Regions from separate parts of the Homo sapiens genome. Here all the other regions are linked to region 1. Evidence: promoter capture Hi-C in 16 types of primary human blood cells and fetal thymus (Javierre and others, 2016). All regions are on one chromosome and are shown on one strand. The core of a region is centred on a gene start or on the middle of the fragment in contact, and the rest is flanking DNA. Distances in the headings are between cores, read along the strand shown. Region 1 holds the start of DNAJB11 (DnaJ heat shock protein family (Hsp40) member B11). Region 2 overlaps ETV5 (ETS variant transcription factor 5). Region 3 overlaps ST6GAL1 (ST6 beta-galactoside alpha-2,6-sialyltransferase 1). Region 4 overlaps ETV5 (ETS variant transcription factor 5). Region 5 overlaps ST6GAL1 (ST6 beta-galactoside alpha-2,6-sialyltransferase 1). Region 6 overlaps ETV5 (ETS variant transcription factor 5). Region 7 overlaps DGKG (diacylglycerol kinase gamma).

Region 1 (3,560 bases), core at 476-2,975:
TCCTCCCTGAGGTGGCGACCTTTAAGCTGATATATGAGTTAAAGAAGGAATCACCCATGCTAGCACATGAGGGAGAGTACAGTGTTTCAGGCAAAGGCAATAGCTAGCACAAAGGCCCTCGGCAGGAATGAGCTCGGTGTATACAAAAAAAAGAAAGGAAGCAAGTTTTGCTGGAGCATGGTTAGGAGTATAATAGGTTTACAAAGCATAAACGGCTTTGTAAACTAGCATGGAGTTGGGATTTTATTCTAAGTGCAAATGAAGAGCCATTCCAGGCTTTTAAACAGGGGAGTGACATGATTTGACTTTTATTTTTTATTTATTTATTTATTTATTTATTTTGAAACGGTGTGTCACTCTGTCGCCCAGGCTGGAGTGCAGTGGCAGGAACTCGGCTCACTGCAACCTCCACCTCCCAGGTTCAAGCAATTCTCCTGCCTCAGGCTCCCGAGCAGCTGGGGTTACAGGCGCTCGCCACCACACCTGGCTAATTTTTGTAGTTTTAGTAGAGACAGGGTTTCATCATGTTGGCCAGCCTGGTCTCAAGCTCCTGACCTCAGGTGCTCCGCCCGTCTCGGCCTCGCAAAGTGCTGATTACACTTTGGGTGGGTGAGCCACCGCGCCCGGGCTTTTTTTTTTTTTTTTTAAATCATGGAGTGAGGGACAGGGATGAGCAACATATATTAAGATATTAAGGAAGATATTAAGAGTGGGGGCAAGGAGGCCAGTTAGGAGGCCCTGGCCAGGTGAGAGATACACTGTGACCCAGAATCCTGGTAATGGAGATGTAGTGAACAGATTGAAGTATAGTTCAGAGGTAAAGAGTTGGATAGCTTATGCATGAAAGGAATAAAAACACCTAGAGCTTTGTCCTGATCAACTAGGTGTTGTGTAACTGCGATGAGCAAAATCGGGGGGAAGATGGGGAATCAAAGAGTTCTGCTTGAACCGTAATAATGGTTTTTACTCGTTGCCTGCTTACTATACGCCCGATGATTTACCGATTTTTTTCCCTGTTAAAATTCACAGAACTGCCAATAAGTGCTTTGCCTCAGTTTTGTTGATAAACTTAGGCTCAGACTTGGGAGGAGGGGAGGGGTGGGGGGTCTCACCACTAAGAAGCGGTGGAAGCCGAATCCGAACTTAAGTCGGTCTGTCATCACTGTAGCCTTTCCGAGACAGTTGTCTTATGGAGTTGCTTGGAGAACGTAAAATAAGAGGCCTAAGCAATGCGTCTGATGTACACCTGTCGTGGAATAACTGTTCCCGCTCATTCGGCCGCTGTACCTCTGCTCCCTCATTCGGAGCGTAGCTGGGTATGAATGAAATTCCGGGCTTGTAGCACAGAGAAAACTTCTCTCCCACAATTGGTTGGTGCTGGGGAGGAAGCTCCTGATTGGTGGAAAGTCCGAGGAAGTGGGCAAGCCGGAGGGATTTCGTGTACCTCAGGTGCCCTCACTCTGACCGGCCCCCTATCATTACGTAATTTTCTACGACTCGCGGTAGCTCAGGCAGAGCGGGTTCCTGCAGCGGCGCGACCCTCTGACGTCTCCGCTTCTAATTGGTCAAGAGCTGCGACTGCAGTTCTGAAGCCTAACTGGTTGCCCGTGCCGCCTCGGAGGTGAAGTGTACTGCGCTGATTGGCTTCCAGGCGCCGGCCGCGTGTGATGTCCCGGGCAACGATTGGCTCTCGCCTACCGGGGGCTTCTCTCACCGGGACTCGGGACTCCCGGGAAGTGGACCGGCAGAAGAGGGGGCTAGCTAGCTGTCTCTGCGGACCAAGGAGACCCCCGCGCCCCCCCGGTGTGAGGCGGCCTCACAGGGCCGGGTGGGCTGGCGAGCCGACGCGGCGGCGGAGGAGGCTGTGAGGAGTGTGTGGAACAGGACCCGGGACAGAGGAACCATGGCTCCGCAGAACCTGAGCACCTTTTGCCTGTTGCTGCTATACCTCATCGGGGCGGTGATTGCCGGGTGAGGAACAGACACTCGCAGACAACGGGGCCTGTGGGTCAGCCTTTGCTGGGGGGTGGGAGGGGGTGGGGGAAGTGGCATTGCCAGACTGACGGAGTGGAGAGGGGCATCGCTGTGGGTTGGCGGGGTGGCGGAGGAAGGGGTAGTATGGGCCAGGCTAGTGGGGTGAGAGGAGAACCGTGGGTGACACCAGTGAGAGGGCCTTAGGTCCAGAGAGGGTCTTAGGTAGAGCTAGATTTGCCCAGAGGAGTGGGAGTTGGATGCATTGCCAAACGGCATTTGGGGGATGAGGGAAAGAAGGTGGTTGCGAGCTGAAGCAGTGTCACGTAGAGCTGGGGAAGAAAGAGGGATGCCTGACTGTAAGGAAAGATAGTGACAGTGCCAGGCTGAGGTTGAGGGGATGGACGTTTGTTTGATCAAAGAGGTGAGTTGCTGTGCCCCGCTGAGGTGGAGAAGCGGACGATGCTCTATGCCAAGCCTTCGAAGAGCCATTCTGGGGCTGACATTAAAGTGGGTGGATGATGCCAGCCCGAGTTGGGACTGAACGAAATTGGATGCGGGATGGGAACAAGAAGATCTTTAGACAGCCCTTGTACTTCCCAGCTTCTTGAGCTATTTATTATCTTAAGTTGCTTCATCTTTAACATTCTGGCAGTGCTACTGTTAGGACATTTATGTGGCATAATCTTTTTAAAGAAGGAAAATCATCCTTTGAGAGTGTTATTTGACTTTTAGAAAAGTCAAAATCATTTGGAGCCAGTATAGGGAAAGGGGGGAAGAGTTAATTTGATTATATGGTTATTGCCTAAAGATAACATGAGACCATAAAATAAGGAAGTGGTTTTCTTGACCGAAGGTGGTTCTGAAAGAAAAGTGCCACAGATGTTTTGAATAATCCGAAAAGAAGTATATAGCCTCTTACTGTGATTACTTCAATATATAAGATTCATTACAAATTCTGGTGTTCTCTCTTTAGTCATTCTTTGTGTGTGTATGTGTCACATAAACCTTCATTTTTATACCTCTTTGCTCAGATACAAACCTAAATGTAGAGGAAAAATAAATCTTTTACTTTGAAAAATGTAACATGTAACTCTTTAATGAAGTATTCTCTCCCTCTACTTCCCAGACGAGATTTCTATAAGATCTTGGGGGTGCCTCGAAGTGCCTCTATAAAGGATATTAAAAAGGCCTATAGGAAACTAGCCCTGCAGCTTCATCCCGACCGGAACCCTGATGATCCACAAGCCCAGGAGAAATTCCAGGATCTGGGTGCTGCTTATGAGGTGAGTTGGGAAAAGTGATAAAGTACGAATAAAATCTGTAGCTCTAGAAAAAACATACAATACAGAGAAACACTCCTTTCAGCTCACATTTATTTATTTATTTATTTATTTTGAGACTGAGTCTCTATTGCCTAGGCTGGAGTGCAGTGGTGCAATCTCCGCTCACTGCAACGTCCACCTCCTGGGTTCAAGCAGTTCTCCCGCCTCAGCCTCCCAAGTAGCTGGGATTACAGGTGCATGCCACCACACCTGGCTAATTTTTGTATTTTTAGTAGAGACAGGGTTTCACCCTGTTGGCCAGGC
Region 2 (3,560 bases), core at 640-3,139, 500 kb before region 1:
GAGTATTTTTAGGCCAAAGGGATTAGGGGACCTGAAGTTAGGAAGCCAGGACCAGCATTGGAAGGGGTAGAGGATTGCAGTTTGGTCCATTTTTGCCATGCTGGGGCTGTCATACTGAAACCAAACCACACTCAAGTGATCTCTTCTTCAGCCATCATGTTATCAGTGTCCATCGAGACGAAAGACAGTAATTTGAGTTGTGTCCATGTGGGATGAGCCATCACCCTGGCAATACAACTCAGATCAAAGAATTACAGATATGGTAACCTCTGTTGAGTGTCTTGCTTTAAGGGAGTGGAGTGGGGTGCAAAACCCATCAGGACAGATCAAAATGTCAGTCTTAAAGGAAAAAATGTTGCTGTTCATGCTACTCCTGAGAAAAATACATCAAAGCTTTCCAGAGGAATGCTGATGGAAATGTTTACACACGATCACTACCTCACACTTGGTAATTTTTCTGTCATAAAGCAACAGGTCTCTCCCTTCTGCCTATTTCCTCAGCATTTCCCATAACCAACTGGTGCCTGAATAGATCAATCTATGTATTATCTCAGAGAAGGTCGAGCAAATTCCATCCAAAACTGAACCCCAACACTCTCCAGGCTTGGACTCAGAGATGTACTTCATACCACTTCTGAATGCCTACCGCACTTCCTACCACTTACATAGCTTTTCTGTTTTGTTTTGTATTCCATTGCGCATAAACATGTCAGCTCTACTAGCTCCTAAGTTATTTGAGGGCAATTCTTATAAAAATTATAAAAAATTCTTATAAAAATTCCTGTCCCCAAGGCCCTGCATGTATAAGACACTGAATAACGAGACAGAAGAATGCAAGAATGAAGCAAAGAATAGCACAATTTGATGCTGACCTGAATCGACGCAGTAATCCCGAGGCTCCTGCTTGATTCCCATTGGTGACTGGAACCCGTGTGCTGGGGGCCCTGGCATGCCCGGGACCCCATGTTCATAGAGTGGGTCATGGTATTCTTGTTTGAATCCCTGAGGGGGCGGGGGAGCTGCAGGGACAATAGGTTCTGACATTTGCCGATGGTAACTGGGGCGATTATCTCCAGGAACTCCTGGCTGAGGAGGGAAGGGGTGGCAGGGTTCAGACAGTTGTCTCTGAAATCTGTAAGAAGAAAGAGGTTTTCATGTTGAACAAAGACTTGATGAATTCCTACTATGATTGAGCACTGGGGACTAGAAGTTCCAATTAATGAAATTATTTGCAAAGTACTTAATAATGCTTATTTCTGGGCATTTTACCCTCTTCCCAAAATTACATTGTGTATTTCGAAGCTCTTGAGTCAGGAAGTGGCAAAAAAAAAAAAAAAAAATCAAAGCAATGATGTGGTAGCCTCTTATCTTCCATGTATGTATATTTTATGCACAGTCTATCTGTATAGATGGGCCAGATTATGTATCTGAATATATGAGACCAATTATCTGCAAATAGCACTAACATATACATAAATGTTTGTTCACTAGTTCATCCATTCTCTCACCTATAGATAGAAGGAATTTTTAAAGACTGAATACAAATTAACCAGTTAGAAAATGTAGTTAAAAAGAAAAAAGAGAGAGAATCCCATTCATAGTAGCAATAAAAAACATAACATTCCTAGGAATAATCAGGAAACCTATAGGCCATATAAGAATAAAATCTCAAAATTGTTTTCAGAGGAAAAGAAAGAAAAAAGATTTAAGAGAATATATTTAGGACTTTGAAGCTATTGATTCACTGAAAATTAATCTATAAAAGCAAATGCCTTCCCAACTAACTTGACAAAATGATTCTAAACTTTATTTTGAAAAGGCATAAGGACCCACTAGCTACTGACATATGTCATAAAACTTCAATAATTAAAACAATAATACAACAAATTGAGAGATTGGCAGGTCAAAGGAATTTAATGGCAAGCCAAAAACTGTCAAGTATATTCCAAAATTTACTACTTGTTAAGGTTAGCATTTCAAATTAGTTGGGGAAAAAAGTTAGACCCCATTTTATACAGATACCAAAATAAATTTCATATGGATTAAAGGTTCCAATATAAAAAGTGAAACCAGGCCAGGCATTGTGGCTCATGCCAGTAATCCCAGCACTTTGGGAGGCTGAGGCGGGCAGATCGCTTGAGGTCAGGAGTTCAAGACCAACCTGGCCAACGTGCCAAAACCCCATCTCTACTAAAAATACAAAAAAATTGGCCCAGCACGGTGGTGGCTCATGCCTGTAATCCCAGCACTTTGGGAGGCCAATGCGGGGGGATCACGAGGTCAAGAGATTGAGACCATCCTGGCCAACATGGTGAAACCCGTCTCTACTAAAAATACAAAAATTAGCTGGATGTGGTTGTGCGCGCCTGTAGTCCCAGCTACTCTGGAGGCTGAGGCAGAAGAATCGCTTGAACCTGGGAGGCGGAGTTTGCTGTAAGCTGAGATAGCGCCACTGCACACCAGCCTTGTGACAGAGCGAGACTCCGTCTCAAAATAAACAACAACAAAAAAACCTAAAAAAATTAGCCAGGCGTGGTTTTGTGCACCTGTAATCCCAGCTACTCAGGAGGCTGCGGCATCAGAATCACTTGAACCCAGGAGGTGAAGGTTGCAGTGAGCCGAGATTGCGCCACTGTACTCTAGCCTGGGCAACAGAGCAAGACTGTCTCAAAAAAAAAAAAAAGTGAAACCATCATATGAAAGTAAATATATATGAAAACTTACAAAACTTGGGAGTGAGGGAAAACCTAAGTATCATACCAACAGCAGAAATCATCAAGATAAACCTGGATATACCTCACTGTATAAATTTCTATAACTTAAAAAGACATCGGAAACAAAACCAAAAGAAACACATCAAACCAGGGGGAAAGAATCTGCAGTAGTCAGAAAACACCAGAAACAAAACCAAAAGTAAAACTGAGGAAAAATCTCCACAGATACAGGAATCTCACTGTTGGCAAAAAGAGCTTTTAGAAATTAACAAAAGATGAATATCTCAAGAGGAAAAAAATGGGCAAAGGACATAAACAGGAATATCCTTACAGAATAGGAATGGTCATAAACAAAAAGTTTAACTCATTAGTAATTAAAAAAGTAACAAAGTCAGAAGAGAAGTGTTTTTCCTTTTAGCTTGGAAGATGAGCAGGCAGTTACTAATTCTGTGCCAGGTACCTGAACAGCAATTCAGTCACAGATGATCAGGTATAACTACAAAGATGGTCACCAATGCAGCTGTCTAACAAGGAAACTGGCTATATATATTATGATACAGTCATTTGGTTGAAAGCAACCATTAGAAATTACATAATATGTAAATATATAAGGTCTTGGAAAGGTATTTTTGACATATTAAGGAAGGTTGCTAAACAGTACGTAGAGTATCAAAGCTTAGCAAAAATAAAAGTAGTAGTATGGTGTCATATAAAACCACAGAAAGACTGACATTTAGATATTAACACTGCCTATCTGTGGGGTGGTTATAATTTTAGGTGATTTTCTTTTTTTGCTCATCTATAGTTTGATAATAAATATGCACTGTTTTTTAACAAGATAGAATA
Region 3 (3,560 bases), core at 361-2,860, 490 kb after region 1:
AAAATGGTTAAGATAGTCAATGTTATGTTATATGTATTTTAATACAATTTTTAAATTGGAAAAAATGTCAGTAGGGGAGACAGTCACAGAAGTACAAACACTGTATGATTCCACTTTATATGGAACACCTGGAGTAGAAACAAAGTAGAATGATGTTTGCCAAGGGCTAGGAGGAGAAAGGAATGTGGAATTGTTGTTTAATGAATACTGTGATTCATTTTGGGAAGCTGAAAAAGTTCTGGAGATGGTGGTGATAGTTACACAACAATAGGAATGTACTAAGCTGAATACTTAAAGTTGCTAAAATGGTCAATTTTATGTTATGTATATTTTAAAAGCTTTCTTTTAAATCAACAGGGAGAAACCAGTTGATAGAGGGAGAAAGTGAATATACTAAAAAGAGGAGAAAATGATTAGTTACCCACAACATGATGGTGGTGGAGCCAAAGCGTAGTGGAGGATGAACCCCAGCAGGCGGGAGTCAGAGGGAAGAAGGTGCGAGTGGTGTAGCTGGAGGCAGTCAGTATTAGAAGGATGAGAGGGCTTCTATTTTCTCTGCAAAGTGGCATGCAAGGCCAAGTCAGAAGGAGGCTGAGGGGGAAAGAGGTTTTAGTAGAGAAGGTTTGAACAAAGAGATTTATAATTGTCATTGAGGTGAGTGGGACCGTCAGTAAACCTGATGAATGGAGTAGGATTTCCAGGCCATGCTGGGCTACTTTGAGGTTGAAGAGAATGAATTTAGAGAGAAACCAATCTCTGTTTGATACATGGATGGTAGGATCTGGAGGTGAGCAGGCAGCAGCAAAGAGGAGAGGGGAGAGGGGAGGAGCCCTCCCTGAGCACTCTCTTGGACTGCGGAGGCTACCTACTCTCTGAGCACTTCTTCGTGATGATTCAGTCTTCCTCACTGTGAAGAACGAAACCCCAGTCCTGCAAAGATTTGAAACTGTATTTAAGGCCAAAGTAAGGTTGCCTGGGAATTAAGAGTACTGGAGTCAGGCAGGCTTTGATCAGATCCCTCCCCCAACACTTCCTGTGTGAGTGACTTCAGCAAGTTGCTTTACTTTACCTTTCTGAGCCTCATTTCCCTTACTTGTAACACAGAAATATGAATAGTTACTATCCAGGGTTTTTTTTTAGGATCAAAGGAGTTACTATGTGTGGAGCATGTCACCCAGAGGCTGGTATGCAGCAAGTGCTTTGTAAATAGTAGCGATGGGCACTACTGAAACCTGAATGTCTGCCTCTGCCTGTTTGCGAATGACTCCACCTTCCCAAATCCCAACAGGGAAGGTGAGTCAGCTTGAGACCACTTGAGAGGCATCTAGCAGAAGGGAGGCAAAACTTCTGTTAAAGGATAATTTTTAGGGAAAAAAAGGTAAGATGATGACTCTCATACAGATATTAAAAATGAATTCATCATGAAGATTTTATTTTACTCGTATGATGGAACCAGGCAGATATTACAACTGGTTCAAAGGAAAAGTCAAAGCAACACAAATTTGGAGTAAAGGAGTTGAACTAGTTTTTCTGTGAGATAAGGCAGGGGGAGGGGAGAAATCAATTGAAACTCTCCTGGGCAGCATCCTGCCCAGTAGGCACATGTATTAGTTGCCTACAATTCACAAAGGGTTGCGAAATAGCTCCCGTGGAATCAGAATCTGACAGGGAGGAAGAGTGTGCTCAGAAAATGCATGGCTTTCTACTGAAGCAGATTTTTTTCCCATTACACTTCTAGATCTCTGTGCACCATTGTGCCAGGGCTGCGAGGAAGGTGGCCCACTTCCCGGGATACACTACCCACCCTCAAGAGAGCCTTTCCTGCTGCTTCTTAGGCAAGTCAGCTCTCTTTTCTCACCTCCTGTAAGCAACACTAAGTATCTGGCTGTTCCTTTCGTACTCGAGTCCTGGCCGCTCCATGACAGCACTTGTGGTGGTACTGAACTGTGATGGACACTTTCTATCATTGCCCTTTCTTACCTTGATATCCTAAAAAGCTGGTGGTCTGTCTTCTCTATCTTTTGTCCTGGTCAGTTATCCTAACTATTTTGTGTCTGTTTCTGTGGATTAGTAAACGGGGTCCCCACCCCCACTCCACAAGGAGAACATCTGGCACCCAGAAGTCACTGAGAGAATAGCTGTTGCTTTGGTAGAATTCTGCCTCTGAGTGGCTTGTTCTTTTCCCAGACGGAGAGGTCTCCTGACAGCAGCTCTCTTCTTTTTCTTTTTTTTTTTTTTTGAGACAGAGTTTTGCTCTTGCGCTCAGGCTGGAGTGCAGTGGTGCACTCTCGGCTCCCTGCTCTGCCTCCTGGGTTCAAGTGATTCCCCTGCCTCGGTCTCCCAAGTAGCTGAGATTACAGGCATGCACCACCATGCCCAGCTAATTTTTTGTATTTTTAGTAGAGACAGGGTTTTGCCATGTTTGCCAGACTAGTCTCAAACTCCTGACCTCAGGTGATCCACCTGCCTCAGCCTCCCAAAGTGCTGGGATTACAGGCATGAGCCACTGCGCCTGGCTTTAGCAGCTCTCTTCTAAAGCCATCTGGACCCACATTTGTTCAGCTCCCCTCCCTTGGCCATGATGAAGGCATGCAAAACAAAAAAGGCACTTTTCTTATTGAGAAGGTGGCTTTTTATAGAGAATGGTGTCATACTGTTAGGTTTCAGGCCAGCAGACCTAGTCAGGCATGTGACACTTCTGTGCCAGGTGTGGCTATGAGAGTCAACAGGAAAAATGATATATGTAAATGGACAGGTCTTTAAATAAATGCAGTTTTGACTATAAGAGTAAGAAGGTTTCTGTGAGACTCAACTCAGTACCTCCTGTACCCTGTGGGCCTGAGAGAGGAGACAATGGGACAAGAAGACCCAGTGGCTTCCTTGGAAGCTTTTGTGCTAGCTGGAGAGAGAAGACCTACTTCCTATATGCCTAGCAACAGTCCACACTGACTGGACTGCAACCAGGACATTTCCAGATTACTCAGTGGGGCTTATCTTGAAATAATAGTTGATGCCATTTGTTAAATATATTATATATACCATCTAAGGGTCTTACATGCCTTCTCTCATTTGATCTTCATGGCAAACCCTGTGAGGTATGACCACCAACCACCATTTTACCTCAGAACTCAGGCTCCCAGAGTTTAAGTTGCTCACAGGAGCCCAGAAAGTAAGCGACAGAGGTGGGATTTGGTTCTAGGTGTTTGCCACCAGCACTTTAAATCACCAAAGCTTTCTGGAAGCTCCAACTTTTCTTCTCAAGATACTGAAAGACAGGTATCTGGATGGGTTGGCAGGGCGGGTGGGAGGTGGGCGAGATTTCCATCAACAACGGGTCTAAAACCAGCGATGGTGAGCTGGGTGATTTTGATGGAACCCCTGCCATACAGTCTATTAATATCATAATTGGAGCTAAAATTTAATCATGATGGCAATCATGAGTTCTGGGGCTTCTTGATTTGGGCCAGCAGACACAGTCTCAGTCACTAGTTCTCCGAATCAGAGAAAGGATGCCTTCAGGCTGTGTCTTCACATGGCTTTTCCTCTGTGCGTGGTGGAAA
Region 4 (3,560 bases), core at 625-3,124, 480 kb before region 1:
AAAAAGACAAAACTAATCTATGGTGTTTGAAAGTCAGGAGGGAGGTTACTCTCGACGGGGTGGTGCCTGTTAAGGGGGCACAGGAGTCTTCTTATAGTCTGATAAGTTCCGTTTTCTGATCTAAATGCTTATACCGTTTGTAAGAATTCATCATGCAGCTGTACTCTTGTGATTTCTGTATGTTACTTCAATTAAATTTCTACTTTTTAAAAAAGCAGCCTGGTCCTCATCAAATAGCACCACAGAGTTAATACTAAAATATATCAAATTTTAGAAAATCTTTCTTCTGTGATGGTCTAGAAACAGTCTTCCAAAGAAACAACTCAGTTGTTTTAAAATAGAAAAAATAAACTGGTCCATTCAAGAGAAATAATAATTCCCTCTGCTGACAAAAGCTGTTTACTGCCCACAAGTACAGGCCTGTGGACTGTTCAAGGCGGCCACCCCATGCCCGTGCTAATGGTAAACTTCACTATTACAGCCCCAAGGATCAAGACGTAGGAAAACACTTTTGTTGAATGTTATGATGAGCAACAGTTCCATTCAAAAGCATTTTTTTTTTTTTTAAGAAAGACGAAACCCATCTTGTCTAATAAGGCTTTCTTTGGTGTTTCATAATCATCAAAGTTTCAATTTGCCACAGACTTTGTTGTGAATACATAAAACATTTATGTAGCTGCTGAGTGTTAAAGAAATTGCCAATTAGTTACCCTGCGGTCTGAAGGGAAGAAGGACTAAGCCCATCCAGATTTCTCCTACTTCACACACAGGCTTTGACCGCCTTCCAGCAGTTGCCATCCTTCACGTTCTGTTTTGGGGTTTTCCTTGTCCCTTCTTCAGTTTCATTTACCTTCATCTGGCCCAGACTCATCTTTCCCAAATCAGCTGTGCAGGCCTGACCTCCAGGTCACACTCAACTGTCATTATCCTCTTAGTTCACATGGAAAGTTGTGTCTCATGACAGAAGCTGACCAGAGCACTGACACGTGCTTCTGAATGGCGTGTCCATGAGGCTGCAGCTCAGGGGGCTGGCCTAGGTCTCCAGAGCCTCCCATTACACTTGAACAAATATGATGTGGAATGTACACAAATAGTAATGGCCATACACTGCTCAGGGTTCCAGAGCCATCATCCTGAAATGAAGGCCTTCTCCTAAGTCTCCTGGCCACCAGCTTTGGGTCACTGCTCCTCTCTGTGACCACTGCCATCTCACTTCCTTTCCCTCTAGAGGAAGAATTACATACTGCATAGTCCAAGAATGGGGGTGGGAGGGGAGAGAAGTCCGAGACACCTGCCCATACTATTAATATTCTGTGGTTGTGGGAGTGAGTAGAACACAGGGAAAGAAGGTAGAGGAAAAGATGATCAAGAAGAGGGACATGGAAAAATAACAAGGACACTGGCAAAACAGAACCGAAAAATCCACCAGGGAAGAGCAGGTATGACCTCTTTTTCCCTGATTTGCCCTTAACTTGTCTGAGTACTCCACTGGCAAAGACCAGAGGGCTTTAAGTCACAGGAGGGAGTGTACCTTGTGCTTCCAACATAGTGCTGCCTACTCTTAGCTCTTGCCTTTTTTGACGAATTTTGAGACAAAGCTCAAATACCTAGTTAGCAGGAAAAAAGATGTAGATAGGGTAAGACTTATTTTTTAAGTTCTACAGTATTACCAGAGAGGGTCAGAAATATTTATTTTAGGACTGAGCAGATTAAAAACTCATTTTACACATAAAATCTATTATACCTCAATATTCTTTGTAACTGCTCTAACAGCACTAGTGAATGACTCTAATAGTAGATAATACTCTGTTCTGGGAAACAAGAAGGTTCACAAGGAGATAAGGTTAAGTGGACAGGTTCTGGCACTTAAAAAAGAATATCTGGAAAAGGAGATGTCTGGATTTCCAAACCAAATAAGAGGCATGCTCAAACTTGTTTAACATTGATCCTGCCTGGCAACAGTTTCCAAAAACAAAAATTGACAATGTTATCAAATTTAGTTAGGGGACACAAGTTCTAAAAGCAGAATTGGTGTAGGTATGGAAGAATGTGCCGTTTTTCTTTAATATCTCACACAGCTAACCTGTGTAAGGATAAATTCTCAAATTTAATAGGTGAAAAATCATCCACAAATGGTAAAATCAACTATTGAGCAAGCTGTGCTAAAAACCGTTTAATGAGCCCCCCAAAAGCCCTCTCCTCAAACATGCACAAATGATCTCTGACCCAATTATCTCCATCTGTGTCACTCTGTTCTTTCACCACTGTTTTAAGGTCAACACAAATACATAAATGTGAGAAGTGAGAGAATCAACAATATTAGAGATTTCTAAGCCTAAGGGCAGCATTTCTGGATGCTGTTTGCATTTCTATATATTCTTTAAAAATGGACCCTAAAAAAGTCAGCGACTGGCCAAGACTTCAAAAAAGTCACTGTTACAGGGAAAATAAAAAAGCTAGGGAGACTGTTGCATATTAAAGAAGACAAATGAAGCATAAACATAAATGCAATGTGTGATTTTAAATTGAATCCTAGATCAAAACCATTATCAACATTGCTAAAGAGATATCTGGAGACAACTGGGGAATTCCAAACATTACTGAATAAAAGTTAATTTTCTCAGGCTATGTAGGAGAATGTCAATCTGTGGAGACGCACACCAGGGTATTTGGGGTGAAATGTTATAATGCCTGAAACTTGCTTTCAAATGGTTAAGAAAAAACCATATATACACAGAGATGAAGCAAATGTAGCAATACGTTTTAAAAATAAATCAATAAAACAGCTATTATGTCCCATTTCCTCTGAGATATTTGGAGGAAAAAAAATCCTTTATCTTATAGTTGACTAACATGTCAAAAGTAGAAATGCTTAGAACCTCAAAACCATACGTCGACAAATGAAGAAAGCCACCCTTGGCCTGTTACTGAATTGGAAGGATAATACAGCCCTGGGAATCTAGCCTTACACAAGGATATATGCTGGTCATACCTAATGTCTACGCCAGTGGTTCTCAAACACATTTTGTTGGCTTTGGCCCACTTAGAAAGGACAAGGGAACACTCCAGAGATGGCAAAATAAAAACAGCCACTGCTGTCACTGTGACTACTGCCTGCTAATACTTCCATCAACCTGCCTGGGTAAAAAGATAGCAGTTACACAAATGCAAAATGATCAACAAAAATAACACCTATCAGTAACTATATTCATATTAATGCATCTATAACAGGAACTAAAATATATGCCCAAGTCAACCACAAACGATTCTTGAGAAAAAATGGAGAATTTCCACTCCTTGTGAATTTATATGTAAAACACGTTTAGGACAAATAGGTTGTCCAGAACAGCTGGACAACTCATTCGATTTCATCCCCAGGGTCCTCCAGAGAGTGCAAGGCAGCTATCACCAACCTGGGAAGGTTGGCAGAATTGAAGTTCTCTTTCTTATGGTTCTCCTTCATTTTCTTCCCTCATAAGCAGCTTGGGTTAGCCCTTTTTACCCCTAAATGCTGAGCAGGGCTGGGATCAGGACGAGAGGAAGCTGGAAATAGGTGGCCT
Region 5 (3,560 bases), core at 285-2,784, 470 kb after region 1:
GGGCTGCTGAGTCATGGCTGTGGCTTCACACTGCTGTCTTCACTACCCGTATCACCTCCACATGGCCCCCAGGCTGAGCTGCTGCTCTCCTGTCTCTGTTCAGAATACCTTCTGTGCCTTTTTGCTTATCTAGTTCAAATCCAATGAATACCATGCTCTTGTTTTGCCCTCCCAACACTCTGCAAATCACATAGGGCAGAGATAATTATTCTGAAAAACTCAGGGGCAGAAATATTAAGTGACCTGCCCAAGGTCACCAAGAATGGGGATAAGAACCCAGGTTTTGTGAACACCCAGTCCAGTACTCCTACTACCTTTTCCTGATATCCTTAGGAGCGGGATCCATGGGAAGGGACCTCAGACCCCTAGTGGGTTAGCAAAACCCCGGAGGTGATTGCTTTGATTTATTATTGTAAATAAACCCAGTGATTGGGGAAAGAATGTAATGTTTTCCAAAAGATACAGACATTATTTGAGTTCAAAGTGCTTCCAGTTTCCATTCAGTTACACAATAAATTCTGAGAAAACAAAGTAGGTGTTTACTCAGAAATAAAGAGACTATTCAGTCTCTATTTGCTCAGTGAAATCTATTTTCCAGAGCTTCTTGCAGTTCTGTGCATGTTGTACTGGAAAGGACATGGGTTATGGAATCAAATCCACTTCGATTTGAACCTCAGTGCAACCATTTCCTCAGCTCTGTGAGCTTGGGCACTTCCCTTGACTTCTTAGAGCCTCAGGTTGCTAATCCATAAAATGGAGATTATAACACCTTTGAAGTGAACCCTGTACAGGTTAGGAGATGCCCTTCGTATTAGACTATGCTATGCGTGGTGCCCCCAGAGTTGTGTCTCATGGTGGCCCTGGTTATGGTGAAGTTAAGTGAAATAACATCTAGCGTGCTTAATGAATTTTTGTTTCCATTTCCTTAGTTGGCTACATGTCTGCTATCTTACCCAGAATTCCTAGCCTCTATCATGAGGTGAGTCAGCTTCCTGTCTCAGCAGTGCTCTTCTTGCAGGGCACTGCACAAAACTGTGGTGGAGATAACCCTCGATCTTCTCATGCAGGAGTCCAGCATCGCAGCCCTTAGAGAGATACATCAGAAATCTATGGCATCATCTATAACGAGAAGTCTTTTTCTGGCCATTTTGAAGGGGTGTTGGGCCACTTACTATTTTAGGAAGTTTAGGTCTGGTGATGTAAAACAGTCAGCCTGCTTTTTTTTATTCTATTTTTTTTTCAAGCATGCATGGCTTCATTTAACAAATGTTACAAGGCCCTAGGAACTGAGTGATTTGCAAGATGTGGTTTCTGACTTCAAGAAACTCAGAGTGCAGTCAGAGAGGTAGACCAAGGCAACCAGAAACTAATATTCAGCATAGAAAAAGTAATGATGGGAGGACATATAAAGTGTTCATGGCTCAAGAGGAAGAAGGGAGTGGAAGAGTGGAAGAGGAAGAGGGACTGCTGTCCACGTTCAAAGCCCAAATTGAGTCTGACTTTTGTCGAGAATTGCTTAACAGGCTGCAGAGGTGGCCAGGAGGTAGACCAGGGCTGGAATTCAAGTCACCTCATTTCAAATCTATTGCTCAGTCCATCGCTCCGCCTCATGCCACATTGGGTTTTTCTTTACATCATTTGTTTTTCCTTGTCTCACTTTTTTTAGGCTTGTTTTCCTGCTCAGAACAAAGTGACTTCCCTGAACACATCTTCATTATGATTCACACCAACCTGAAGAAAAAGTTCAGCTGCTGCGTCCTGGTCTTTCTTCTGTTTGCAGTCATCTGTGTGTGGAAGGAAAAGAAGAAAGGGAGTTACTATGATTCCTTTAAATTGCAAACCAAGGAATTCCAGGTGTTAAAGAGTCTGGGGAAATTGGCCATGGGGTCTGATTCCCAGTCTGTATCCTCAAGCAGCACCCAGGACCCCCACAGGGGCCGCCAGACCCTCGGCAGTCTCAGAGGCCTAGCCAAGGCCAAACCAGAGGCCTCCTTCCAGGTGTGGAACAAGGACAGCTCTTCCAAAAACCTTATCCCTAGGCTGCAAAAGATCTGGAAGAATTACCTAAGCATGAACAAGTACAAAGTGTCCTACAAGGGGCCAGGACCAGGCATCAAGTTCAGTGCAGAGGCCCTGCGCTGCCACCTCCGGGACCATGTGAATGTATCCATGGTAGAGGTCACAGATTTTCCCTTCAATACCTCTGAATGGGAGGGTTATCTGCCCAAGGAGAGCATTAGGACCAAGGCTGGGCCTTGGGGCAGGTGTGCTGTTGTGTCGTCAGCGGGATCTCTGAAGTCCTCCCAACTAGGCAGAGAAATCGGTATGTTCTGGGGTTGTTCTGTGAATGGCAGTGCTTATTGGGACTGGCTGGGCATATTGATGGTATGGGAGACAAGTGGCCCAAGTGTGGCTCAGCGGACCAGTGGAGTGGGCCCAGGGCAGTGTTTTTTTCAGAGTCACAAGTGACACAGAGGGAGTTGAACAGATGGCGCTCTAGGCCCCCGCATCTTTTATCAATTAGAAGAGCTTCATTATTGTTTCCTAATATTTTTAGTTGATATATAATAATTAGATATATTTATGGGGATATTTTGATACGTGTATTCAATGTGTAATGATCCAATCAGGGTAATTAGAATATCTATCACCTTGAACATTTATTGTTTCTTTGTGTTGGGAACAGAATAGTTTTATTTTCATCTGTTTTAAATATTGGAATTGTGTAGAAGATTTCATTTGAAAAAGAGAGTTCCGCTGCTACCAATAATCAAAAGCCTACAATTGACCTTTGAAAAGACTTGAAGCATAGATCTGCACATCATTTCCAGGTTCTGAAATTCTGTTGTTTTTCCTGATTAGTGGAGGACTCTATTGGCCTCAACAACCTGGGTAATTTTCAGCTTTTCTCTTTGAAAAGATTTAATTGGGTCAGTAATTCTTAACTGGGGGCTATGGACCAACTTCAGAGGGTCATGAATCCCTGCAATTGCGTGCAAAACTGTCTGTGGATTAGGTGTGTAGAATGTATGTGTATGCGTATAAGTGTGTCCGTGCATTTTTCCAGGAAGGGAGTTTGTAGACTGCAGTTTATTCTCTAAGGGATCTGTGACCCAAAAAAGTTTCAGAGTCACTGGTCACAACATATTAATTTGCTTTTCTTGAAACCCTTTGTAGTGAATCAAGATAGAAAGTCTGTCTATATTTGTAAACCTGTGTAACAGAGAGCCTTATTTCTCTTATGCTGAATGTGTTTTCCATTATTTGAAATGAATCAGCTAAAGAAAGCAAAGCACAGGAAGCTTTGCTCCTCTGTCAGCCTGGAGGTACTGGAGCAGGTGAGGTCATACGTCTCCTTTTTTATTTCCTTCATTTGACTGCCAGGAAAAATGGTCTGAAACCCAGCACAGGCTCTCAAAGAAAAGTAGGCCCAAACTGGATTCTCTAGAGCAGAAAGAAATGGTGAGATCACAGTTTCTACCTCCCCAAATAGGCAGCTGCCCCGCTGGCCGGCCCCACCTCAACTTCTGCTTTTGTATTTTTGGTTTTTCTTGGACTTT
Region 6 (3,560 bases), core at 272-2,771, 470 kb before region 1:
CACACACACACACACACACACTTGGATTATCTTTATTTAGTCTTTCAGTGGCAAGCTTCCCAATCACTCGAAAGCAATCAAAGGGCAATAATTAACATGCATTTACTCTCCCATAGAACACATCCACAGCAAGCTGTGACAAAGCTAAGGTAACCATGCATGTGTGTGTTCCAGTTTATTCCCTTTTACAGTTTCATGGCATTGTGCCTTGGACATGAGGCCTATCATTAAGGAATGTTTAGCTGTTACCTCTGCTCTTACATTTAAAAGATTTGGAATACCCAACTTTTTACTTAGAGAGAGACCTAAGATACTCTCTCTCCAGTGGCATTTTTACACACATACACCCACCTACCCAGAGATAAAACAAAGCTGGGAAGAATCTGTTGGTCCAAAATGAGAAATTGAGTCCTTGCATGGCTCAGGTGCTTGCTATTATAAACTATGACTAAGAGACATGAATTTCTCTATGATGCAACTCTCAAGAGAGGCAGCATTTTCTCCAGGCCTCTCTTAAACCTGCTCATTCGCCAGTGACTAATGCTCTCTAGAGCAGCCCTGTGCTGCTCAAATTTCATCAGCCGGCTTTGTCCTTCATAACTCTGCCTAGACCATAAAAGCTCCCAAACCTGTTGAGGACAGCCCCAAAAGATCAGTGCAAAGTAACCATGCCCCTGCCAGTGTTGAAAGCCATCTTTTGAGCTTCCCACTGCATTTTCTCTCTAGTAATGAGCACTTAGTGGCCATTTTAAGAAAAAGTTTCTCTTCTCTGAAGAGAAAAGCCACAGCAACTACACGAAAAGTAAGAGTAAATCAGGCCACTCTGTGACCACCCCTTGTCAGCTTAGGGGTAGAGACAAAATTGACAACATGTTGGATGAAGCCAAAGTTAACTGGAGTTTTCCATTAACTATTTTCTGCACCTTTAAGAAAAAGAGAAATATCAGGTTCATGATTCACATCAAGGACTTAATTTATAAAACAAACCCCAAAAAAGCCATAAAACAATGTGTGATTAATAGATGCTTGGCCTAACACCAAATATATTTTGTCAGTTAATTTATAATTTTGAGCTTAAAGCTTTGCAATATTCTTTTTTTTTTTTTTTTTGAGATGGAGTCTTGCTCTGTTGCCCAGGCTGGAGTGCAGTGATGCGATCTCAGCTCACTGCAACCTCCGCCTTCTGGATTTAAGTGATTCTCCTGCCTCAGCCTCCTGAGTAGCTTGGATTACAGGCGCCCACCACCACACCTGGCTAATTTTTGTATTTTTAGTAGAGACGGGGTTTCACCATATTGGCCAGGCTGGTCTTGAATGCCTGACCTCAAGTGATCCACCTGCCTCAGCCTCCCAAAGCCCTGGGATTATAGGTGTGAGCCACTGTGCCCAGTCAGCTTTACAATATTCTTAAGGTAAAAAGAAATTTAGGATAAAATTATGTTCAGTAAATCTTACCTGCAATACAGTAGAAATACTTTAGAAATAATTTTATTATGAAATAAAAGTTTTCAGGGTTAATTCTGAATTATTAGAAGAAACTAAATGCATACTACTGTCTAAATCTGGCCATAGCTGAAAAAAGCATATTCTAGACATGGATGATCTAAGACCAAACAATTTCAGAACAAATGTGCCATCACCAGAAAGGTACTTACGGTTATCAGACTGAAAATCTGGGACAAACTGTTCATCATCAGGAACTTGTGCTGGAAAATAGATTTTTATTTTAGACCTTTAAGTTTTATTAAAAAGCACAGTAAAATGTTTTATATGGAAAATAGGACATCCATGAAACTTGCCTTCAGCTAACCAAGCCTCTTGAAGTTGACTGAGATCCTGAAATAGCTCTGAAATTGAAAAAGAAGACCCCAGAATGAGGATATTTCTTTCGCTAGGGAGAAGACAGGGAAGAATCTACACGCTACTGTCACTGGGAGCAGGGAAGCCACAACATAATCAGGGAAAGCTTTACTACCTTCAGAATCGTGAGCCAGATCTGTGTCCAAAAACTTCCTCTTTCTGTCAATCACAGGCCGCCCTCTGCATTCCTCAGATCGAGATTTCTGAAAGAGGCCAACAGAAAGTGAAGGCTCAAGTGTAGTAAAGAGGTCCACAGGGGGAAGACTCATATTGGAGAGGGAGGACAAAACAAACCAAAAGCCACATAAACTTACCCCTGGGACCATAAAAGGGACTTGCTGATCATAAAACCCGTCCATGGTGCTTTCAGCGTCTCTAATACCACTTTGAGAGGTTTCAGCATTGAGTAATTTCTGGGGGAAAAGGGATCCTCCTGTAATATGAATTTGGGAGATTTTAACTAAGAGGGGGGAAAAAAAGAAATGAAACAATTTTAGACTGCCTTTTTTTTAGGGCCTGTGCAAAATTATTACCCTTCTGTGAAGTACTTAAAACCTACTCAAGGTGCAAGCTTTACACACCAATGCCGGGCTTGATTAATGGTATCAGAGGTACAGGATGTACTCCGTGCCAAATCCATTTACCCAGTCATCATTTTTTCTTTCTTATTTAAATCATTAAAATTACAGATTTGCTACTGTCTGTTCTCTACCAAAACAAAAATAAATAAATAAAATAAAATAAAAGGGTGATTTCAAGATTCTCTCATATACTCCAGGGCATTTGTAGTAGGGTTTTTAAAAAAGAGATAATTTAATTTTTGACAGTACAGTGTCAGGAAGCAGAGAAACTGGGTTTAAGTATTCCAAATTATTGGCAATTAAAGATCTGACATACATGGTGTTTCCAAAAGCATTTTGTAGGTCACTGTTAAAACACTATATATAGTTCCTGGAATAAATTGATCAGAGGTATACTTATCTTCACACACAACTCTTTATTTAAAAGAGGACTAAACAGATATAGCATCTGTAATGTCACAAATATCTCCCTGGTTACTTACAGAGATATTTGTGACATCTCCAACTTCTAAAAGAGTAAAATGTCTATGAAAAGTAATGGATTAAAAAAACTAATTCCATTGCATGTGGTACAATGCATCTCTACCAAAGGTCTTTTAAAACTTAGGCTGTTTCATATAGCGGAATCATTTTTTTCTAGACATACCCCCCCACCCCCAAATGAAACTCATTTCAGGACGGGTAAGTGTGTGAGTCTGGGGAAAAAGGGTGGGGTTAGAAGGGAGAAAACTTCTCCTAACGTGAGTGGAATAAAGTAACAATTTCAGGGAGGTACCATCTTCCTAAACACTTTTATTCTTCAAATAAAAACACCGTTAAGTCAACAAAAGGTGGAAAAACATTAATTTCACTCACTCCAGCTCTAAGCAATTCAAAATGCTTAAAGGTCAACTTCTTTTGTTTGACATATACACAATTTTAAACAGGAAACTTTTCCCCCGGTGAGCAATTCCATCCAATTTGTTTTTCACACTGTGTGTAGCATATCAAATTTTTCATAAGTGGGCAGGATACAAGGACACCCTTCACAGCCAGCATCCTCCGCAGCACTTTGGCCCAAGGAATCAGATATTTTCAAAGTCAAAGGAAAGAGAGGAGCAAAATAGCACACAGTTCATA
Region 7 (3,560 bases), core at 530-3,029, 410 kb before region 1:
TGGTCTCAAACTCCTGACCTCAAGTAATCCTCGTGCCTCAGCCTCCCAAAGTGCTGGGATTATAAGCATGAGCCACCACGCCCGGCCTTGTTTTATATTTAAATAAAGCCACGGACACAGTTATATTTATATTTTTATATTACATTTATATTTTTTACCTTTTAATATGTTTGATTCCTTTCTCTTTTAAAAATTAGGTTTTCAAACATTTGACATATTTTAAGAACTAGTTCTAGAGTTTCCTGTTTTTAGTTATTTTCTTCTTTTATCTTTATTATTTTCTTCCTTCTGCTTCTCCTAAGATTGTTTTATTATTGCTCTTCTAATTTTAGTATTATTCATTACATTTTACTTCTTTTTTATATGATGGAAGATTATGAGGCTTTTAATTTACTTCCAAATATAGTTTAGGCTATATTCTATAATTTTTAAACTGGAGCCTTCTTATTTTTGTAATTTTTTGAGTAATCTACCATGGTGGCTTTGATCTCCTCATAAATCTCTTGTTGTTTAGGAGAATTTTTAAGTCTCCAAGTGACTAAATTTTGTTTATTCACTTAATCTTCTATTAGTAATTTCTAGCTTTATTACTTTGTGGTCAAAGAAAATGACCTTTATAATTTCTGCAACTGGATTTTATGGAGCTTTTTGCCTTGTAAACTAGTTTATGATCTAGTTTAATAAATATGAATGCCTGAACAAATATGATATTTAATTTCTTTATGAGTTATAGAGTTATTTCATCCAAGCATTTATTTTTTTGCTACTTAACCTCAAAGATGGAAACAAATATTTTCAAGCTTCTCAATATCTGTCTGTCAATTCTATATCAACCTTTTCTCAGAATATGTATTGATAGTTTTTTATATATTTTGATTCTGTTATTAAATATCTAACATTTTATGACCACTATATCTCATAATTGAATGTACTTTTTATCAAATAAAAAATGTGTTTACTTATTCTGCTTTATGCTTTAGGCACATGGAAAGGTTAGTTTGCCTAAAATTAGCATAATTAACATTACTATGTCTTCCTTTTAATTTCTTTATACCTGATAAAGGATAAAATAAGATATATATTATATATACGTATGTATAACCTTTCATTTTAGATGTATCTTTTGTAAGAAGCATATATTTGGATTTTCATTTTTAACTCAATATGAGAGTATTGATCTTTTAATAGGGAATTTTAACTCATCTATTTTTCTTTTATATATATATTATATATATACAGTCTTAACATCATTCAACTTGCTTCAAAAAATTTTTAAATGTTGGCTTATTTTTTGCTTTCTATCCTGTGCTACATTAATAGGGTTTATATATTTTAAATTCTTCCAGATTTGAAAGGTGTGCACCCTATTTTTAGTTTCGCTAGTGATTGTCTACCTATTAAAATTATCTTCTGATTTATACGTTTTGTCATCAAAGTGAAGAGAGACAATGAGAAACTTCACATATCTTTACTATTCCTTCAGCAGTGTCTCCTGCATGTTTTTGGCCTTTGTTAATATAATCTCAGGTTTGGGATACAGGTTATTAATATTTACATGATATGTCTTCTCTTTCAAAGAATGATTTTTTGCCATTTGCATTTATTGCATAAACATATTTAGCAGGTTTTTGGAAACTTCATTCTAATTTCACTGGTTTCCATTTTTACCAAAAGTTCTTTTGGGCTGTGATAGTCCATTCTTAAGGCTTTAATTTTGAATCACTTCTTAGTTGGTGTATACCTTCAAGAAGATGTTTCAACAAGGGGTACATGGGTTTTAACCCTTGCAAGTTTAAGAATGATTTTCTGTTACCTTCTGTTATGGAATAAATTGTGTCCCCCCCAAATTCATATGTTGAATTCCTAACCCCCAGTGTGACTATATTTGTAGGTAGGGCCTTTAAGGAGGTAATAACGGATAAATGAGGTCACAAGGGGCGGGGGGGCCATAATCCCTTAGAACTGGTGTCCTTATAAGAAGAGAAAAGAGTGTACAAACACAGAGGAAAAGCCATGTGAGGATACAACAAGAAGGCAGCCGTTGGAAGTTAGGAAGAGAGGCCTCCCCAGAAACCAGCCCTTCCGGCACCTTGGTCTTGTGTTGTCAGCCTCCAGAACTGTGAGAAAATAAATTTCTGTTGTTTAAGCTGTCAGTCTGTGGTATTCTATTATGGCACTCAAAGCAGACGAATATACCTTTACATACGGATTTCTGGGCCTCACACTATGAAATCATTGGTTCACAAATTTTTTCATAGTGAGTTGTAATCTCTAAAGGGTGGTATGGAGGAAGGGTGGGTGTGGGCATAGGGAGAAGCATTTGGCTATTTCAAAATCCAGTGCTTGAATTTATAGGAATAGCAATCCAGTTTTCAGCTAGGACTGAACCAGGTAGGAGAGGGTTTGATTTCTTCCACCTTTTTTTTTGTAGGGGGGTTGGAGATAAAAGGAACTTGGATAGATTCTTCTCAACTCAGTTCCATCAAATGATAAATAGTAGAAATTCCCTCTATGCGTCCTAACTCCAGCAAGGTGGAAAGCTATTATTTGATATAGTGTGTTTTCATTTTTTTCTTGGTCTTCATAAGATTGAGGTAAGATTTTTGCAGAGAAATTTCTGTTTTTGATAACCTTTATAGAAGATGCTACCTTTTCTCAGCAGGTTCATGGAAACCTTCCTTTAGTAGAAGACAATTTGATGTTCTGGAGGGCTCAAAATAGCAGGTGATCAAAGTATCTGAATACTCCACTAGAGTGAGGAAGCTTAGAAACTCCACTTTTGTCTTTTGAAATTTGCATAGCTGCAATCTTATTGAGGGTATTACGCATGTAGTATCCCAGCAGAGGCCCTGAAAACCAGGACGACGATTGCTCTTCACCACGAGATTCTAGCTGCATTTCTAACTGAGGACAAACTAAGAAGGAAGGATGCATGGCTCCTGTCCTAGTGCTAAAGGGAGAGCTAACGGATATGGTAAGTCTGGGAATGGAGATAGTCTATTTTTGTTAGTTCATTTGTTCAGTCTTTTATTCATCATTTGACATGTATTATTGTGCAACTATTACAAACCAGGCACTGTTCTACGTTCTGGGTGACAGTGCCATAAACAAAATAGATAACCTGCGTGGTGACTCATTCAGTGGAATTTTCAAGTAGGTTATCAGGGCTTTGGGTGCACCGACTGGGAGGCATGTCTGTGCTCTGCGAGGAATTTTCTCCCGGGAGCTCCAGCAGTCAAAGGCGCTACCCTACCAAATTCTAGGTAAGGTAAGTGTGTAGATTTGGCTTCCACGTAAGGAAGCAATTTGACTTGTTCATCAGCAGAACAGTCTTCCTTTTGAGGTAGTAAATTCCTTGCCATTGACATGATTCAAGCTGAGGCTGTCCAGGATACAGTAGATGAAGTCTCAGAATTCACTGACTAGAACTGTGAACTCCTCGAAGTTGGTTCTATGTCTCATTCAATTTTGTGACCGGCGCTTCACAGTGTCTGGCATATAGCAGGTTTTCATTAAGAGTTGCCAGGTAAATGAGTGGATGGATAATAAAGTGGAAGAGG

The links. The method cuts DNA at HindIII sites, captures the fragments that hold promoters and counts their contacts. A CHiCAGO score of 5 or more calls a contact.
Region 2: a fragment that was not itself captured here is called in contact with the fragment with the promoter of DNAJB11 in region 1 in 2 of 17 cell types (activated CD4 T cells and naive B cells); the score reaches 6.1 in activated CD4 T cells.
Region 3: a contact is called between a fragment that was not itself captured here and the fragment with the promoter of DNAJB11 in region 1, in 2 of 17 cell types (naive CD8 T cells and activated CD4 T cells). The highest score is 5.2, in naive CD8 T cells.
Region 4: a contact is called between a fragment that was not itself captured here and the fragment with the promoter of DNAJB11 in region 1, in 1 of 17 cell types (naive B cells). The highest score is 6.9, in naive B cells.
Region 5: a contact is called between a fragment that was not itself captured here and the fragment with the promoter of DNAJB11 in region 1, in 1 of 17 cell types (activated CD4 T cells). The highest score is 5.3, in activated CD4 T cells.
Region 6: a fragment that was not itself captured here is called in contact with the fragment with the promoter of DNAJB11 in region 1 in 2 of 17 cell types (naive B cells and total B cells); the score reaches 6.7 in naive B cells.
Region 7: a contact is called between a fragment that was not itself captured here and the fragment with the promoter of DNAJB11 in region 1, in 1 of 17 cell types (total B cells). The highest score is 5.4, in total B cells.

Annotation. Positions count from the first base shown.
Region 1 is chr3:186,568,995-186,572,554 of GRCh38, forward strand. It overlaps DNAJB11 (DnaJ heat shock protein family (Hsp40) member B11), which reads left to right and starts at 1,726. Exons shown (of 10, transcript NM_016306.6): 1 at 1,726-1,971; 2 at 3,101-3,257. The coding sequence starts at 1,904. It also overlaps a transcript of TBCCD1 not described here. RefSeq lists a silencer at 1,738-1,977. The HindIII fragment of the contact is 6,099 bases long and covers 1-3,560 here.
Region 2 is chr3:186,064,941-186,068,500 of GRCh38, forward strand. ETV5 (ETS variant transcription factor 5) reads right to left here. Exons shown (of 13, transcript NM_004454.3): 8 at 873-1,132. Among named protein-coding and RNA genes, the nearest start is that of ETV5-AS1, 12 kb to the right of the region's middle. The HindIII fragment of the contact is 2,996 bases long and covers 392-3,387 here.
Region 3 is chr3:187,062,782-187,066,341 of GRCh38, forward strand. The region is part of intron 5 of ST6GAL1 (ST6 beta-galactoside alpha-2,6-sialyltransferase 1); the gene reads left to right. Among named protein-coding and RNA genes, the nearest start is that of RPL39L, 75 kb to the right of the region's middle. RefSeq lists an enhancer at 2,853-3,032. The HindIII fragment of the contact is 2,549 bases long and covers 337-2,885 here.
Region 4 is chr3:186,087,287-186,090,846 of GRCh38, forward strand. The region is part of intron 5 of ETV5 (ETS variant transcription factor 5); the gene reads right to left. Among named protein-coding and RNA genes, the nearest start is that of ETV5-AS1, 9.9 kb to the left of the region's middle. The HindIII fragment of the contact is 4,166 bases long and covers 1-3,560 here.
Region 5 is chr3:187,040,988-187,044,547 of GRCh38, forward strand. It overlaps ST6GAL1 (ST6 beta-galactoside alpha-2,6-sialyltransferase 1), which reads left to right. Exons shown (of 8, transcript NM_173216.2): 4 at 1,667-2,323. The coding sequence starts at 1,717. Among named protein-coding and RNA genes, the nearest start is that of RPL39L, 97 kb to the right of the region's middle. RefSeq lists enhancers at 847-916, 3,167-3,436, 3,547-3,560. The HindIII fragment of the contact is 3,531 bases long and covers 1-3,300 here.
Region 6 is chr3:186,103,650-186,107,209 of GRCh38, forward strand. ETV5 (ETS variant transcription factor 5) reads right to left here. Exons shown (of 13, transcript NM_004454.3): 2 at 2,175-2,293; 3 at 1,976-2,063; 4 at 1,800-1,847; 5 at 1,656-1,706. The coding sequence starts at 2,219. Among named protein-coding and RNA genes, the nearest start is that of ETV5, 3.7 kb to the right of the region's middle. The HindIII fragment of the contact is 886 bases long and covers 1,079-1,964 here.
Region 7 is chr3:186,157,916-186,161,475 of GRCh38, forward strand. The region is part of intron 24 of DGKG (diacylglycerol kinase gamma); the gene reads right to left. Among named protein-coding and RNA genes, the nearest start is that of ETV5, 51 kb to the left of the region's middle. The HindIII fragment of the contact is 1,963 bases long and covers 799-2,761 here.